2 separate regions of the Homo sapiens genome follow, and region 1 is linked to region 2. Evidence: promoter capture Hi-C in 16 types of primary human blood cells and fetal thymus (Javierre and others, 2016). All regions are on one chromosome and are shown on one strand. The core of a region is centred on a gene start or on the middle of the fragment in contact, and the rest is flanking DNA. Distances in the headings are between cores, read along the strand shown. Region 1 holds the start of SLC44A2 (solute carrier family 44 member 2 (CTL2 blood group)). Region 2 holds the start of CDC37 (cell division cycle 37, HSP90 cochaperone).

Region 1 (2,967 bases), core at 257-2,756, 220 kb after region 2:
GAGTGCAGTGGCACGATCTCGGCTCATTGCAACCTCCGCCTCTCGGGTTGAAGTGATTCTCCTGCCTCAGCCTCCCAAGTAGCTGGGACTACAGGTGCACACCACAACATCCAGCTAATTTTTGTATTTTTAGTACAGACGGGGTTTCACCAAGTTGGCCAGGATGGTCTCGATCTCTTGACCTCATGATCCGCCCACCTCGGCCTCCCAAAGTGCTGGGATTATAGGTGTTAGCCACCACACCCAGCCTATTTTCTTTTTTCTTTTTCTTTTTGGAGACAGAGTCTCACTCTGTCCCCCAGGTTGGAGTGCAGTGAGGCAATCTTGGCTCACTGCAACCTCCACCTCCTGGGTTTAAGCGATTCTCCTGCCTCAGCTTCCCAAGTAGCTGGGATTACAGGCATGTGCCACCACACTGGCTAATGTTTGTATTTTTAGTAGAGAAGGGGTTTCACCATGTTGGCCAGGCTGGCTTAGAAATCCTGATCGACCTGCCTCAGCCTCCCAGAGTGCTGGGATTACAGGCATGAGCCACTGCACCTGGCCTATGCCTGCTCTTTGAGGTCAGTTTTGGTTTCATACTTTAGCCTCATTTTGCAGTTGAGGAAACTGAGGCTTAAGGAAGATAAGCCCTTTGTTAAGTATCCTCTAGTTCAGAGGGTGCAGAAGGAGCATTTGAATTCAGGGCGACCCAGGAGGATGTGGGCTCCACAAGGGTGGAGATTGGGTCTCTCTGGTTCCTCACTGTATGCGGTGCCCCGCCCAAGGCCTGCACCCACTAAGGGCTGAATAAATACTTGTTCTAAGACCAGGCCCAGTAGTGCACGCAGGTAATCCCAGCACTTTGGGGGGCCACGGTGGGAGGAGCCCACGAGTCCAGGAGTTAAAGATGAGCCTGGGCAACATAGCAACATCCCATCTCTACAAAAAAAATTAAAAATTAGCCGAGTGCAGTAGAGCACCTGTAGTCCCAGCTACTCAGGAGGCTTAGTCAGGAGGATGGCTTGAGGCAGGGAGGTCGAGACTGCGATGAGCTGTGATTGCACCACTGCACTCCAGCCTGGGCAACAGAGGGAGATCCTGTCTCAAAAAAAAAAAGCAGCAGACAGAAAGAAAACTAATTTCCTGCACAGCTTGGAGAAGTTTTCAGCACCAACATTCCACAGTTGGTTGTCTGGGTTTGGGCAGTAGGCCGTTTTCCCTCCCAGTGCCTCAGTTTCCACACCTGCAAAACGAAGCCACGGAAACGCCCTTTCAGGGTGGCCAGGGGTTCTAGGCGGCATCGCCCGGTGGCAGGGTGTTCCCAGGGTGAAGCCGCAGGGTTCCCGGGTGGGGGCGGGGAAGGCTAAATGCGGCCGGCCGGTGAGTGGCGGGAGCAGCTGCAGCCCCGCCCGCGCCCTCCCGGGTCCCTTAGTCTGGGCAGCTGCCCAGCTCGGGCCGGTCTGACCGGTTTGGGCCGCCCCGCCTGGCGCTGTGCTGGGAGGAGCCGCCGCCAGTCGCGCGGTCAGTGCCTCCCTCCAGACTCGGGAGGGTCGAGGGGGCGCGGGAGAGAGCGCGGGCGGCCGCCGGGGCTGGTCGCCTGCAGGGATGGGGGACGAGCGGCCCCACTACTACGGGAAACACGGTAGGCAGCGACCCCCGCCCGTAGCCCCGGGCCGACCCCTCGGTCCCTCGGAGGGGGCCTTGAGAGAACATGGGGCGCAGGGAAGGGGGCTGGAGGGGGAGCGCAATTGCAAATCTGCGCCTGGAGCCTCCCCACCATCAGCCAGGCCCCTTCACCCCACTTATCCCCCGCAGCCTCGCAGACGACCCTCCTTACTCTCCCCTACCCGAAGGACCTGCCCCTGTACCCCTCTGCCTGGCACTGCTGCCGGCGCCTCCTTCCCCCTATCCCACCTCAGATCTTCCCCATCTCCACCTGGTTCCGTGGTGGTCACCATTTCAGCCCTCTTCCCAGTGGGTGGCCGCCAGTTAATAAGTTTGTTCACAGTTAGTGATCCCTCCTTCCTCCCCTGTCCTGGCCTGCCAGAACTGGGGGCTTGGGTGTGGTCACCTGGAGGTGGGTGAGGCAGAAAATTCCACAGGTCTCTGAATTTTATTCTTGCCAAGGCAAAGACACCCCTAGGGGCTTTTGGGAGGGGGCTCTCCCAGCCCTGTCTTGGTTCAGGTCTCCAATCCCATCCATCTTAATCTTCTTGACTTTCAGGAACGCCACAGAAGTATGATCCCACTTTCAAAGGACCCATTTACAATAGGTAAGAGCTCTGGGTTTTGGGGGGTTCTCCCCGCTAATACTACCCCAATCCCTGTCTCTTCACACCCCCTCCCATCTGTTCTCCAACAAACTGGTGACAAATATTTGAAACTTTTTTTTTTTTTTGAGATGGAGTCTTGCTCTGTCACCAGGCTGGAGTGCCGTGGCGCGATCTCAATCTCGGCTCACTGCAACCTTCGCCTCCCGGGTTCGAGCAATTCTCCCACCTCAGTCTCCCAAGTAGCTGGGATTACAGGCTTGCACCACCACACCTGGCTAATTTTTTTTTTTTTTTGTACTTTTAGCAGAGATGTTTCGCTGTGTTGCCCATGCTGGTCTCGACCTCGTGAGCTCAAAGCGATCCACCTGCCTTGGCCTCCCAAAGTGCTGGGATTACAGGTGTGAGTTACCACACCTGGCCTGGACTTAATTTTTACCATGTTTATATTTATTTATTTATTTATTTATTTTTGAGATGGAGTCTCACTCTGTCACCCAGGCTGGAGTGGTGCAATCTCAGCTCACTGCAACCTTCCCCTCCTGGTTCAAGCACGTCTTCTGTCTCAGCCTCTCCAGTAGCTGTGACTACTCAGAGGCTACTCAGAAGGCTGAGGCAGGAGAATTGCTTGAATCTGGGAGGTGGAGGTTGCAGTAAGCTGAGATTGCGCCACTGCACTCCAGCCTGGAGGACAAGAGCGAGACTCTGTCTCAAA
Region 2 (3,275 bases), core at 445-2,944:
TGCCCTTCGTTTAAGAGCACAACATGGCTGGGTGCGGTGGCTCACGCCTGTAATCCCAGCACTTTGGGAGGCCGAGGTGGGTGGATCAACTGAGGTCGGAAGTTCAAGACCAGCCTGACCAACATGGAGAAACCCTGTCTCTACCAAAAATACAAAATTAGCCAGGCATGGTGGTGCATCATGCCTGTAATCCCAGCTACTCAGGAGGCTGAGGCAGGAGAATCACTTGAACCCGGGAGGCAGAGGTTGCAGTGAGCCAAGATTGTGCCACTGCACTCCAGCCTGGGCGACAAGAAGGAAACTTCGTCTCAAAAAAAAAAAAAAAAAAAAAAAAAGGAATACAACAGACACTGGTATGTAATGCAGGCACACTCATTTGGGGTAGCAGGAGGTTAAACCTTTAAGTCTTAGTCATCCCATTGGCTCGTGAGCACTGAGAGGGTGGTGGGACATGGATCACCCAGGCTTGGGATTCTGGGGTCTGGATTCGGGACCTCTGTTGTGGTCAGATAGAAGAAGGGGTGGTGAATTTAGAATCAGACCAGGAGAGTCCCTGGATAAGAGCAGGGACAATTTGGGTCACAGAGTAGCTAACAGGCTGGGGACAAAAGGTGGGGTGGGTTTGGGGTTCTGGGCTTGAGTTAGGGGAGAGTTTCCAATGCTGGCTGAGGCTCATACAGGAAGCCAGTCTGGGAAGTGGGTGGTGACAGGGTCTGCAATACCAAGTAGGAGCAGGGGCTCTGGCTAGGCCGGAAGCCACGTGGGCAGGATTTCCTGGTATAATGGGAAATGGGTCTACCGGAGGCCAAAGGAGAGGCTGGAATGTGAGGCTCTATCGGGTTGGAGCTGGTAGTTAGATCCAGAGGGGAACCAGATTCCAAAACCCAAGTACTCGGTGAGACTAAGGATCCTGAAGGGGGACGGTTCTACACTCTAGGAAGGGGGTCCTGGGTGTGGGCAGGGACAGGAATATCAGAGTAGCACAGAGTTCCTTGTTCCGTTTAGAAAAGGAGTGGCGACTCCGGATCTGAATGGGAACCCCGGATCAAGATCCCGGAAAGTAGATCCCGGGACAGACCAAAGTATTGGGGGTCCAGACTACGGAGGTGGGGGGGCGATGGGAGATCCCAGATAGGAAGTGAATACCCGAATAGGATGAGGGATCATCTAGAAGAATTTGGGGTCCAAACTTTGAGGCAGAGTTCTGGGTATAAATGTTAACTGCCGAACAGAATTAGGGAGAACCCCCAAGACTCGTCTAGGGGACTCCAGACTATGAAGAAGTTCTAGGGGGTGAATAGGGAATCCCACGCAAAAATCGGAGCAGGGAGTGGGGGAGCGGAGATCCAGGGCAGGGACTCAGGGTCCCAATGGTACTGGGGTCCCGGAGTTGAATCGAAGCTCCTGAAAATCCAGACTGGGGGGGTGAGAATCCTAGGTGTGAACAGCGGGGTCCCTGGGCAGTATCGGGGATCACAACTCCGAAGCGGGGTCCGGGAGTGGGGAAAGGGATGGGCGCGCGCGCCTTACCTGATGCCGCCAGCGGAAGAGACTGGCCGTGTCGATGTTGGGGTGCGTCTCGTCTTCATCATCAGACACCTCAATGTGGTCCCACACGCTGTAGTCCACCATCTTGCCTTGGCGGCCCAGCCCGCTCCGGCTCGGGTGGCGGCGACGGCGGCAGCAGTGGAGACTAGGAGCGCGGAGCCCCGCCCCTTCCGCTTCCGCCGAGCGCGGGAAACCCCGCCCTGTGTGACGTCACATCCCTAGTAACCGCGGCAGCGGCACTAGCTACCCAGCCAGCCTTAAAGGGCCCTGCGTAAGTGTTCCGGCCCCCTGGAGTTCCCGCAGAGACTCCGCGTCATCGGGCGCTGGGGCTCCGCTAGGTCTCCTGGGGGCATATGAGTGCGCGCTTCAACTCCGAGCCCCCCTCATCTCCCGCCGCTCCACGGTGGGCGTTTGGGGTGGCAGGGAGGGGACGGTTGATGAGACTGAGAGGACTGTCCCCTCAGCCACGCCGCAGTGACGTCTGCAAGGGGTAGGGACACGGCGGGAAGGCCCTCCCCCTGCCCTTCGTAAACGGGGACCTAAGCCTGCGCTGGAGAGGGGCGCCTGATGACTCCTCGGACTTTCTCAGCCCGAGGAGGACTGGACCTGCCCTGGGGGTGTCTAAATCGGGGGTGGTATGGCCCTCCCCTTGCAGGGTTAAACGTGGAGGGGAGACTGTGGCCCTGCCTTGGGAGCTGGGGTTTCCCCGCCTCGGCAACAGCCTTCTCCTTGTCTTCCACCTCCTGCCATTCGCAGCGAGGACTCGCGCGAGCGCGCGCGCGCACACACACACACACACACACACACACGCACACACACACACACACACACTTTGGAATCACCCGGACCCCCTCAAAACGGGTCTCGGCTCCCCACCCCGCTGGCCGCTGGGTGTCGCTAGAGTCTAGCCCACGGCGCGTATTCCTGGCCCCGCGCTTGGTGGGGGGAATCGTGGAGGGGTGGAAGGGGGCTTTCCTTGTCGTCACAGTCTGGGGCCACGCATAGCCCCTCCCCGTTCGTCTTGGGGTACGCTTCCTCCGCCGGGGCTCTAAGGACTCCATTACTCTAAGCATGCAGGGCCTCGACCACCTCACACTTCCATGCATCCCAATCCACGCTTTGATACCAGGATAATAGGCCGTGTTGCAGCCTTGGGCCAGGATTATCTCAGATTAAAGGGTGCTCCCTCGGGGGTCAGGCTGGATAGGAGGAGCTCCAGCCACTCCGGTGAGGGGCGCCTCTTCCTAGTCTCCCCTGGAGCCGACGTTGGAGGCAGTGCCTGGAGAGAGCGAGCGAAGTTCTCCAGAAGGGGGAGGATTCCCCGGTGCATGGAGCGGGAAGGGCCATCGGACAAAAACGTCCTCCCGCTGCCGCCCTTCCCCCTCGCGCTTCATTCAAACCCGCGAGTGGGCGGGCAGGGGCGGGGGAGTCCCCATCTCCTACCCCTCCCTCTTCCCCTCCACCCTGGCAGTCCAGCACATCAGTGGCCGTCACGGCCCGGGCACGCGCGCGCACGGACCCACACCCCGGCGGCTCTCACAATCGCACACACACATACACACACACACCAGCAAACAAAGGGTCTGGACACCCCCGTCCCCTCCCGCCCCCCAGGCCAGGGAGGGCGGGGCATCCCCTCCCCAGGCCCCCCGCAAGGTAAGCTTGGGGCTGCGAGCTGCGGTGGGGAGGGGGACACGGTGCCACAGTGGGAGGGGGCCAGGAAGGTA

Evidence for each region. The method cuts DNA at HindIII sites, captures the fragments that hold promoters and counts their contacts. A CHiCAGO score of 5 or more calls a contact.
Region 1: a contact is called between the fragment with the promoter of SLC44A2 here and the fragment with the promoter of CDC37 in region 2, in 1 of 17 cell types (activated CD4 T cells). The highest score is 5.4, in activated CD4 T cells.

What each region holds. Positions count from the first base shown.
Region 1 is chr19:10,624,047-10,627,013 of GRCh38, forward strand. SLC44A2 (solute carrier family 44 member 2 (CTL2 blood group)) reads left to right here and starts at 1,507. Exons shown (of 22, transcript NM_020428.4): 1 at 1,507-1,624; 2 at 2,207-2,255. The coding sequence starts at 1,588. RefSeq lists an enhancer at 1-546. The HindIII fragment of the contact is 23,966 bases long and covers 1-2,967 here.
Region 2 is chr19:10,401,848-10,405,122 of GRCh38, forward strand. It overlaps CDC37 (cell division cycle 37, HSP90 cochaperone), which reads right to left and starts at 1,695. Exons shown (of 8, transcript NM_007065.4): 1 at 1,531-1,695. The coding sequence starts at 1,632. MIR1181 (microRNA 1181) reads right to left here and starts at 1,691; the gene lies at 1,611-1,691. RefSeq lists silencers at 1,411-1,470, 3,181-3,230 and an enhancer at 1,871-2,220. The HindIII fragment of the contact is 3,760 bases long and covers 1-3,207 here.